Regions from separate parts of the Homo sapiens genome. Here all the other regions are linked to region 2. Evidence: promoter capture Hi-C in 16 types of primary human blood cells and fetal thymus (Javierre and others, 2016). All regions are on one chromosome and are shown on one strand. Each heading gives the region's core, a stretch centred on a gene start or on the middle of the fragment in contact. The rest is flanking DNA. Distances are from core to core; before and after follow the strand shown. Region 1 overlaps ARAP2 (ArfGAP with RhoGAP domain, ankyrin repeat and PH domain 2). Region 2 holds the start of ATP8A1 (ATPase phospholipid transporting 8A1). Region 3 holds the start of TXK (TXK tyrosine kinase). Region 4 holds the start of SLAIN2 (SLAIN motif family member 2).

Region 1 (2,700 bases), core at 49-2,548, 6.4 Mb after region 2:
ACCCGGGAGGGTGAGGATCCGGATAGACAGCTGGACACTCCCTCCATTCCTCTCCCCTACCTTTAAATAAGAAGAAGCTGTAGTGAGTTTCAGGCACCAAGTTATTTACTCGGTAGAGATCATGAATTTGCCCGGGTGTCTGTGCTGCCCCGCACCCTGCTTGTTAACCACGTTAAGACGACTGGCCTGTTAATTAACTTTAATTACGATCATTTGGCTTCCACCTGCCTGAACCCGATACCTTACACGGGAACCTGTATGATGTGAGTTTACCAGATTGATCTTTCTTGTTTACTTTTGGAGACAGTTCTCTTGGGAGAAGTGGTGTCCATCCTATTTAATAAAGTAAGTTTTACTTTATCTAATTCTGGCTTGTTTTCTTAAACACCTCCTACCTTGAGGTGATCTGGAGTTATTTTGATTTGGGGAAAGGGTTCGTGGATTATATAGCCTTTGATAATTAGAGGAAAACACAAGAAAATAAGCTAATTTGTGTGGAATAATGACATCTTAGGGTGTTGTAAGTAGGTATCCTGATAGCAAATTCTTTTTTTTTTTTTTTTTTTTTTTGCAAGCTTGTCCTTGAAGTAGGCTGTTCAGTAGAATACAGCCTTCGGTTTAAAAAAAATCAAGAAGTGTATTGAAAATAAGCTATTTTTAAAAGTACATTTAATAGGATGTCATTGTTATTACTCATAATAGTATTGTACTTACAAGCTCAGTATTGATTTATCTGCACTTAAGCACTCTACACCCCCACAGGCCCATGGAACTTTGCCCGTAAGTAATTGGAAGATAAAAAGCAAGCTAACTTTTTTTAAGGAAAAAAAGAGAAATACCTTTAAACTCTTTTTTTTTTAACTCTTATTTATGACTTCCATACACTTACAGGAGAAATATTGAGAGAAAATACTCATGACATTTTTTGTCCAACAACGTTTAAAGAAGAAAAAAAAGTGGGTCATGGAACTAGGCTAGGGTTAAGTGCAAATATCTTCCTGGCTTCTTTCTAAACATATTTAACACATACACATTTAAGGTGGTTCCTAACACGAAGAGGGTTTTATATAGATTTGTCAGTACTCAAAGATTTATTTGAATTAAAATGTACCTAGAGGGTAAGTGAGAGAGCTTGTTAAAACGTATTTATATGGGTGTGTGCTTGTGTTTGTATTTTTTCCTTCGTCTGTAAACCTGTCAGATTTTATGTGGCTTGTCTGTAAAAGGAGAAGCTGATGGTACGTTTAAAAACAAATTCTTGTTTTTCTAATATCACTGCAAGCTCCTTGCAGTGTAAGGCTCATGGATATGCAATAATATCAGATCCAACTATTCTTGGATACTGTGGAGAAGTATAGAACTCAGATTATAATGAATTACAGTTTTCTTAAGAACTTTAACGCATTGAAACTATGAAGTTTTAAAGTCTACGTAGAATTCTGGGTTATAGACTTCATGATATATGAGAAGTTTTTTGTTGTTGTTGTTGTTTCGTTTTGTTACTTTCTAACCCACCTCCCTGCAACTGTGAGAAAGTTTGGTGAAAGTGACTATAAAAATGCTAAGTATAAATAATAGTCATTGCTTTAATAGTTTTCTTTTAGCATACATTTCCACCTGTCCTCATTTATTTATTGATACATTTCTTGGATACAATCTTTGCACATGCTACATTGTAAGAGTTTTGGGAATTCTTGGTGAAATATTAATTAGGTAGAGAACTTCTTAATAATCTGGGAAATATGTCTTAGCTTTGACCACATATGGTGGATGTGAGATTAGAGGCTATGAGACGCTGTCTTAATCTTTTCTGCAAAGTTCTGGACCTTGTAATTTATCATTTTAGTTATTACTTGTAAGTATTGGCCAGATTAAATATATAATGGTAGTTAAACCATTTTGCTCACTTGTTTCTTCTTTAAATGAAGCAGTACTTAATGGTATTCTCCTCACGTGATCTTTTCTAGTTAGAAAGTTGTCCTGTGAAATTTTGTTTCAGTTTCTGTTCAGCACAAGCTTACTTATTTACCCATGCTGCAGAGAAAACAAAGGAGGCCTGATTTGGGTTGAAGCAGTGGTTTAGGTGGCAGATTTGAGATTTTTTAGAGTTCCTGAGAACTCATGAAGGATGATGGGGCCACTTCTCCATGTATTTAAAACAATACTAAAATATAAAACCATGTGGAAATTAGGGTCATAAAATTGGATTTTTCTCACCATTACAATTTAAGTGTTTTTTTTGGAATATATCAAATTCTTTGCAAAAAGTTGTTTTTTTGTGGTGTCTTTGGTATTGTTTATTGGCACTTACTGAGTAATAATGAACTGATTGTTCATATACGTGCCATTTACCTTTTCTTATAGTCATGTCTCATCTACCCTTTTAGATTGTAAACTCTTGGAGGGAAGACTGTATCTTCACTTTCTTTGTAGCCCTTAGCACTGTTGTCAAATGAGACAGTAGAGGCTGTTATCTTGAACACCAAATATCTCCCTCTCTTATCTTGGAGCGAGTAGTGTTGCTTAATATATATTGAATGAATACATGTTAAAAAATGGTCCAGTAAGGTAGGAGACGTTTTCTGAAATGCCCTCTTTTTATAAGAAAAAGAAACTTTGACAATTGCTAAACCAATAGGAATAAACCCTCAAACTCAGTTGGAAAAGAGGTCAGAGTACTATTTATAAATGCAAAGAGAG
Region 2 (2,700 bases), core at 169-2,668:
TGTTCCATGAACACTGAGAATACATTTTCTTTGTTCTAATTCCAGCCTCTGAATCAGAGCCAACTAGAGTGGGCTCTTCATAAATATGCATTGACTGCCTGAGTATTAATGTAGGGCAGGGCTCTGATTAGCAAGTGCTACCTGCAGGAAGCAGAAGAAATACCACAAATGGAGATAGGACGCTATTAGCAGATTTTATTTCATTTTTTCCTGAGGCTTGGAAATAATCACTTCTCTCTCAGGTCAAACCTCTCCAGCTCTCTCCCTTCAGGATGTGAAAAGATCTCAAATAAAAGGCCTCTATGTGAGGATCTCTTTCGCTGGTTGCTGGAGGAAGAGCATGAAATGAGGGAAGAAGCAAATTGCTTCTGATTTATTGTTTCTGGTTTATTCCTTTCCTGCCAGTTCAGCAGCTCGCCAGAAACAGCACAAAACCTTACATCTTAACTTGAAGGTGAAGTATTTGTTTTGACAACTTTTTAGCATAGATCTCGGTATACAAAATAAAAGGTAATGAGGCTATGATAGTCTGAAGGACATCGGCAAATTAAAATTTAACATATTTATGGATTTTATACAAAGACTCCTCTCCCCTTTGCAGATAAAACGACTGCATCCAACTTTATGCAGATTTAACTAAAAGAAAAAAAAAAAGTCTTTTGTGAACCACCTGGGCCAATACTTAGTTGGCTTAATTGCTATTTCAGTGCCTTGTCAGGCTGCAGAGCCTGAACTAGGGAGATGCACCGGGCCCACTTGCAGGCGGGGCCCAGATGCACCCAAGCCCCATGGACAAGAGCACCATGGGCACCAGGGGCCTCCCGACCTGGCAGCCTGTTGCTAGTGGGCGAGGCAGGAGGACAAGTGCGGCTCAGGCCACGAGTCGGGCTGGGCGTGCAGAGAGGTTAGAATTACACCCAGATGGCGAACAGTCAGTCGTTCCTTTCCTGCTCTGGCTGGGAGCTAAACCTTGTAGTCCCAGACCCTTTCGCCTTCGCCTGCCGGCTCAGACCCAACAGCTCTTTCCGGACGACGGGCGGCTCCACTGCGATCAAAAGCCAGGGGTAGCGGGAGGGGATTCGTGAGAATGCAGCAGCCAGAGCAGTCTTTCCTTTCTGAGCAAGATGTGAGAGAGTCCGAGTGGCCTGGAGGAGGAACCGGGTCAACCAACTCCACAGGGCGGAGCGAAAACGCTGGAGGACTAAGGAGGCTAAGAGTTGATCCCCCCTTTGAGTCGTGATACGGTCCGAAGCGGGGCGGGGCGGGGCGAAGGAGGCTCCCCCTGGCTCTCCCCGCCCCTCACCCGCCTTCCTTGCTGAGCGGCCGCGGGAGGGGGAGCGCGAGCCCCGCAGGCCCCTCCCCCGGCGCCGGCGCCCGAGCTCCGCCCCTCGCCGAGCCGCCCCTCCGCGGCTGCAGCAAGAGCTCGCCCAGCTCTGCGGGCGCCGCCACCTTCGCCGCCACCGCTGCCTTTCTCCTCCTCCTGTCGGCGTGCGGGGGCCGCGCCCGGCGGCAGCTCTGCCCTAGGTGGGCGGCGGCGCGGCCCAGGCTGCAGCTGAGCGCTCTGCGCGGCGCAGCCGGGTCTCCCGCGTGTACCACGCCGTGACAGGTGCAGAGTCCGGGCTGAGGACCCACCTGCAGCCGCCGCCGCGATGCCCACCATGCGGAGGACCGTGTCGGAGATCCGCTCGCGCGCCGAAGGTAAGGGGCCGCCGAGGCTCGGGGCTAGCCCGGGGTCGGGAAGCGAGTGTGTGTGTGAGCGTGTGTGTTTATCCTGGAAGAGACCGCATCCTACCTCTTCCCCGGCGGCAGTCCGACTGTCGCGCCCGGCCCCTAGGGGACCCTTCCCCCCGCGCTGCCCCCAGTGTACTCGCAGACCCTTTCCAGGCTCCAGTACCCTCGAATGGGTGTTCTCCGCGGGAGCCCCGAGGCGTGCTTTGCACCGCAGTGTGACCATTAGGTCCCAGTCACTGAGCTCACTCGCCCTGCCCACCTCCCTCCCCACCAGTTCGATTTCCACTCAGCAGATCCCCAGCCCGCCGCCCCTGCCTCCGGCGCCCACCGTTTTGCAACCCCCTATCTGAGCTCCCAGCGAAGCGAGTTTGCTTTTCCCCGGCTGCAGGATCCTTTGATCCGTAGTCCCTTGGCTCTCGAAGCGCGGGGAGCCTTCATCGGGGTCGGGTGCCGAGTGGGTTCCCTGCATTACAGCTTCTGCAATTCTGCCTCCTGCAGCGGAGTCCCACCGGCTCGCGTCTGAGGTTTCGTTTTTGTGTTTCCCTTTTGCCCGAAACCCTCACTTCGGCCAGCTGAGCTGACTTTTCAGCCAGGTGGAAGCTGTTTTCTTTGCTCCACCTGGGGCCAGCTCTTGAATGGCCATGGTTGTCAACACTGAGCAACAGATGCTCCGGGGTAGAAGCAAGTAAGCTTTCCGAGGGCCCAGACTCTTCATCGTCTCCGAGGAGCCCTCAACATCCTGCCTGCCATGTGGCAGGCACTCTGTAAATATTATTTGATTTTGCTCGCGTCAAAGCCAAGACTGTAAATATCCCAAGGTTTGTTTGTCCTCTCCCATAAACCTGTACTTGAATCCTGCAGAGGGTGGAATAACATGTTTTTCAGAAATCTATCTTGCCATCATCGCTGATTCCCACTCTTCCTCCCCACCTCCATCTTTTAATGTGAGACAGGTGGTGAAGTGGTTTT
Region 3 (2,700 bases), core at 60-2,559, 5.5 Mb before region 2:
TATTAGCCTGGCATGCATTAGCTATTTTTCCTGATGCTCTCCCCTCATCTGCCCTCCCCAACAGGCCCCAGTATGTGTTGTTCCCCTCCCTGTGTCCATGTGTTTCATGGTTCAGTTCCCACTTATAAGTGAGAACATGTGGTGTTTGGTTTTCTGTTCCTGCATTACTTTGCTAAGGATAACGGCTTCCAGTTCCATCCATGTCCCTGCAAAGGACATGATTTCATTCTGTATAGCTGCATAATATTCCACGGTGTATATGTACCACATTTTCTTTATCCAGCCTATCATTGATGGGCATTTTGGTTGCTAACCATGCACAACTTTTAACTGACTTGTAGCTCATTGAAGGAGTCGGTCCTGGCACACTCTACCTTACTATCACTGTCAGCCTTTTCTCCTTCCTTCCTGACCTTCCCTCCTCCCATCCCATACTTCCCTTTTCACCTTGAGGAGCTACGGGAAGTACTAGGTGGTATGAAAGAGAGTGAGGAGAAGATAGAGTCCCTGTCCTAATGGTCAGTGTATGCTTTTTATGGGAAAACAAGATAGATAGCACCTGGCAACATTTGTCAACATTTCCTTCAAAAATCTTTAAATATTTTTCACTAAGACTTAGAAAAAAAGTTTTATACGAAAGCATAACAAAGGCAAAAGGTGAAGTAAAAATAACAGTCATCACCCAGAATGCTAAGGAGACCTTAATCTAAACCAGGAAATTGGAAGGGCGATTAGAATATGCTGTGTCTTCATTAAAGTTGCTCTGTTAATTAGTTGACACATGGTTATGCTTTCCAGTGGGATGAAGTGAAACTCCCAAGTGTGTTTTGTATTGTTGGTGTTTTTATATTTCTCAGCCATCCCCCAATCACATTTTAGGGTTATTACTAGATTGACTTCCCCCAAATAAAGTGTCTGCTGAGTGGGAGGATGGAACATTCTAAACTCAATATTCCAGAGCCTAGAATCTAATTGTTTCTGCCACTCACGGTGTGGCCTTGGGCAAGTCCCTTATTCTGTCTGTGCCTTCATTTCCTTCCCAGTCCAGAGAGGGCAGTTTGATTTGATAATTTTAAAGGTGCCTTTTACCAAAATTTTGTGATTTCTTGAAAATGATGTTTGCGAGTCACCCACACCTTTGGGGATGAGAGACTAATAGCAGATACCCTCAGAGATTGGGATGGAGATTACTGAGCTTTCTTATATATGCCATTGGTTGTCATTTATACTCTTCTGAGGTTTTCAGAACAGGAAAATAGGTGGGGTTAACTCTGCCCGTGAGAAACATCTTGAGCGAACTATGATTTCAGTTGAAAGATGTGTTTTTGTGAGTAGAGCACCGCAGAAGAACTGAAGACTGTTGTGTGCTCCCCGCAGAAGGGGCTACCATGATCCTTTCCTCCTGTGAGTAAGATGGGCTTTGTCATTTATTTTTGGGGCTTGTTCTGGGGCCTGTTATTCTTGAACAGCAGAGGAAGTTTTTTTTTTCCAAGGCATAGAGCTTGGGGACATTAAAAGATAATTTCCTCAGATGTTGTGACAGAGTTTTGTTTCTTATTTAAAGAACCACAGTGATGATGTAATTCTAATAAAGGTTCAGCATTGAGAACATAAATGAAAGAAAAACAGAAAGAGTGTCCAGAAATCTGCATATGTGTGTGTAGAAATGCAATCAGTATGAAGTACTTGTTTTTAGAATGAGACTGTAATGAGCTCTGGGCTGAAGGCCAGGAGACCAAGTTCTAGTTCTGGATTTGCTCCAGCAGTGGTGGATCACAGTGGGCAACTTTATATATATATAAATACACACACATACACACACACACAAATAAATATCTATATTTAAGGCAAAAGGAAGAGAAGTCAAAACACAACTGTGTTTATACTCTGAAATTATCTGCTTTATCAAGTAAACATATAGACTTAACCTTTATTTTCACAGGGGTATTTATTCACAATTCTATGTAGACTTCCGTTATCGAGGACCTTTCCCAAGCAATTGAAATTTAGGCAAAACTGATTCTTATCTGCAGTCAGAGCCTGAGTAAAGGCCAAAATAAGAGTCAAAGTCACGAGTCTCTACCTGGTTAAAAGTGTGAACATGGTCAAGTGTGAACACTGGCTCAAATGTCTCTTTCCCTCATATATAATACTACATATGAAGATGTTATTTTAATATTTTTATAGAATATAAGACCATCATTAAAAATAAGTGCTTGTTTTAGGAGAACAGAGAAAGATTCCCTAGACACTGTTATCTGTGAAGATCCTTGGTTTGAAAGAGCTGTGGGGGATGCTTATAAATCCAAAGAAATTAGAATAAAAAAAAAAACCAAGCAGAATAGTCTTCTAAATAAGAAGGCAGCCGTCATATCAGAATTGCAATGTGTTTGTTTCTTTATAAAGGTATTTATTGAGCACCTACTATGGGCCATGGTCTATACCAGTTCCTTTATATTCATTATCTGAAATCTTCACTACAAACTGGCAAGGTGAAAATTGTTATTCTTATCTAGCCAATAAGAAAATTGTGCCTTTGAAAGTTTAAATCTTGCCAGAAACTCATATGGTTGTCAGACGCAGGATTTAAGTATGAGACTTTTTTTTTTTTTTTAGACAGAGTCTTGCTCTGTCACCCAGGCTGGAGTGCAGTGGCACGATCTCAGCTCACTGCAACCTCCACCTCCTGGGTTCAAGTGG
Region 4 (2,700 bases), core at 122-2,621, 5.7 Mb before region 2:
TATGAATGATTTCGATTTCACTGTTAGAAGTTTTAATTTCAATAGAGCAGAGACATTTTAGCTAAAAGTTAAAACTTTAAGAAAAATGAATTAAGACAAATAATTGCCCACACACATCTTTATAATAAAACGAGAGGAAAAGCCTCCCATGTCCTATTTATGAAAGTGATATTAAGGTGGGGGGGCCACAATTTCATCAAGAAGTGGCTTATGACAATATAGCTTTGGTTTAAATTTTTAAATAGGACTCTTTTTCTCTGCCCCTAGAAGGACGTGGAAATGAAAGATGGATGTGATAACTGTCAATTCAGAGCTCTGCAAAACGCCAGACTCAATTCTTGTTTTAGAAAATAAGAGCCAGGGCTCGTTCCACCCTTGACTCTTCACACAGAGTAACAAAAAAAAAAAAAAAAAAAAAAAAGCAGCACCATCCTCTGCCCTCTCTTCACACAAAGCAAGGTTTACCCCACTACCCAAAGGGGAGTGCTGATTCATACGGTCTCCCCATCCCCGCCAGAAATGGGTCCCAAACACCAACCGCTGCATAGACGTAGACGACTCTGGTCTGCCCCTGACCCCCACACCTGGTGATACCTCATCAAGCAGACCCCTCTCCTACATCCAGAATGCCCAGGGCCACCATCCGAAAGCCAGTATCTTACACAAAGCAGGATCCCTGCCTACAAAGCAGTTTCCCACCTCCGACTCCTCCCCAGGCGAACAGCCCTTCTCAAGCTGCCCCAACCCACAGACCCCAATAGGGTCCAGCACTCAGAAGGTCCACAATCCAAAGGACAACGAGCTACAACCCTGTTACTTGCGCACGCCTCGAACCCCCAACTCCAGCTGACGTTCCCTCTGCCAAAGCAAGAAAACCACAAGTCGCCACAGGAGAGCGGACCCGGCTACACAAAGCGAGGCGCCCGACCAGAGGGACCCTCAGAGGACGCTCTCCGCCCCCGGGCCCGTCCCCGCCCAGCTCCTGCCCGGCGCCTCGCGCTCACCAGCTCTCCTCCTCCTCCTCCCAGCCTGACAGGCGCTCCAGCTCGTCGGGCCGCAGCGGCTCCACCTCGTCCAGCAAGCCGCCCTCGCCCGCCGCTAGCAAGGAGGTGGCGTCCCGCAGCTCTTCGCTACTCGTCCGCCTCGGGCCCGACCCGGGCCCGCCGCCCGACTTGGCGCTGAGGCCCAAGGGGAAGCCCCGAGGAGACGCCGCGCCGGAGGAGGGAATGGACGCGCCGGCCCGAACCGGGCTGCCGGGCCCAAGGGAGCCGGCGCCCTGCACGGCCCCCGAGCGGCTCCTCAGCTGTTCGTTCTGCTTCTCCAGCTTCTTCACCAGCTCCTGCAGCTTCCGCACCTCCTGGTCCGCGTTCACGTTGGAGTTAACGTCCTCCATCCCGGCCCCGCCGCCGCCGCCGCCTCCGCCGCCCGCTCGCTCTCGCAGCGACAGGGAAAGAGACGGAGGAAAGAGGCGTCGCCGCCGCTCACTCTAGCCGAGGCGCCGGCATATAGCAGGACCAGGCCCCACCGCCAGGGTCCCCCCACCTCGGGTTCCAAAGCGCCGCTGGCCCCAGCCGAACTGCCTCATCTGCGCCGGCTCCGGGATTGGGGGAGGCGGCGCCAATATCCGGCCCCTGCCGCCATCTTCCCTCCGTCCCTCCGCCCCCCGCGGGCCGGCCCAGTCGGTGACCTCAGAGCGTCGGGGGTGGACGCGGCCGCCGGCGGGCGCTGAGAGGACCCGGCGCCAGCTCGCGGCGGGGCGGGGCCACGGACGGGGCCTATGGGGCGGGGCCGGTGCTTGAGGGGCGGGGATTAGGCCGGAAGGGGCGTGTCGGCGGATGTGGGACGCGGCCGGGCTGGCTAGGGAGGGTCCCTGCAGAACGGGAGGCCAGCAGAAGGCTCGCGGCGGGCGGGGCTGAGGTGGCTAACAAGGTCCTCGAACAGCCTCGCCTGTTGGTCTGGGCGTGTGGGCGTGTTCTCCACCCCTTACAGGGAGTGTGGGACCCGCGGGCCAGTCTCGCCCTTGTTCCGGGCCGGATCTCGAGTGGGCGCTCAGCCCGGCGGTGGAGAGACAGTTTACTTTGTTCAGCAAATATTTAATCGATGCCGACTTTTAATTGGAGATTGTCTCGGCTGGCAGGAGCCTCTAGACTGCCTGTGTCCTGTTTCTTCCCCTGAAAATAAGAAACCCCAGTTTCAGACAGTTAAGAGAGGTCTAAGGTCAAAATAATCATAATTTCTTGAGTGCTTCCTACTGGCCAGACAGTGTGCTAAGCACTTTTAAAGGCATTATCTCATCGGTTAAAACATAGTTTTCCCGACTTAAAGTTTACAGCACACTGGGGCGGAAGCGGGGGATAGTAAACCGCTTCTCTACTCCCTTTCTCCGTTTATTGACTCACACTCTGTTCTTTGGATCACTTCCTTCGGAAAAAGTTCCTCGTAGTGTGTCTTGACTTTTTTAAAAGTTGTATGTTAAAAGTAGTTAAACACGCTGACAGATACTGAAGAATGAAGAAAATTGTAAGAATGTGAAGTCTGCCTTTAGAATGCGGCAGGAAACCTAAACAAAACTTAAATGCTTTGTTTTGATCACATTATCACAGTCGTTGGTCTTCAGAGGTCAATTGTGAACGGCTTTGGCTTGTGTTTGCAGCTTTTCTTCAGTTGCCGCCTCCACCCTTAGTTTAATAACAATGATCC

What was found. Contacts are between HindIII fragments. The CHiCAGO score rates a contact against its expected background, and 5 or more counts as called.
Region 1: a contact is called between a fragment that was not itself captured here and the fragment with the promoter of ATP8A1 in region 2, in 1 of 17 cell types (fetal thymus). The highest score is 9.8, in fetal thymus.
Region 3: a contact is called between the fragment with the promoter of TXK here and the fragment with the promoter of ATP8A1 in region 2, in 3 of 17 cell types (non-activated CD4 T cells, naive CD8 T cells and total CD4 T cells). The highest score is 15.2, in non-activated CD4 T cells.
Region 4: a fragment that was not itself captured here is called in contact with the fragment with the promoter of ATP8A1 in region 2 in 1 of 17 cell types (non-activated CD4 T cells); the score reaches 5.4 in non-activated CD4 T cells.

Annotation. Positions count from the first base shown.
Region 1 is chr4:36,241,254-36,243,953 of GRCh38, reverse strand. The region is part of intron 1 of ARAP2 (ArfGAP with RhoGAP domain, ankyrin repeat and PH domain 2); the gene reads left to right. Among named protein-coding and RNA genes, the nearest start is that of ARAP2, 1.9 kb to the left of the region's middle. The HindIII fragment of the contact is 1,441 bases long and covers 578-2,018 here.
Region 2 is chr4:42,655,823-42,658,522 of GRCh38, reverse strand. ATP8A1 (ATPase phospholipid transporting 8A1) reads left to right here and starts at 1,418. Exons shown (of 37, transcript NM_006095.2): 1 at 1,418-1,698. The coding sequence starts at 1,650. ATP8A1-DT (ATP8A1 divergent transcript) reads right to left here and starts at 1,000. Exons shown (of 1, transcript NR_186688.1): 1 at 176-1,000. RefSeq lists enhancers at 982-1,191, 2,182-2,231 and a silencer at 1,222-1,691. The HindIII fragment of the contact is 6,451 bases long and covers 1-2,423 here.
Region 3 is chr4:48,132,859-48,135,558 of GRCh38, reverse strand. It overlaps TXK (TXK tyrosine kinase), which reads left to right and starts at 1,309. Exons shown (of 15, transcript NM_003328.3): 1 at 1,309-1,404. The coding sequence starts at 1,389. RefSeq lists a silencer at 1,573-1,867. The HindIII fragment of the contact is 7,086 bases long and covers 1-2,700 here.
Region 4 is chr4:48,340,433-48,343,132 of GRCh38, reverse strand. It overlaps SLAIN2 (SLAIN motif family member 2), which reads right to left and starts at 1,604. Exons shown (of 8, transcript NM_020846.2): 1 at 1,005-1,604. The coding sequence starts at 1,393. RefSeq lists silencers at 1,124-1,433, 1,574-1,913 and enhancers at 744-1,657, 2,064-2,183. The HindIII fragment of the contact is 7,807 bases long and covers 1-2,700 here.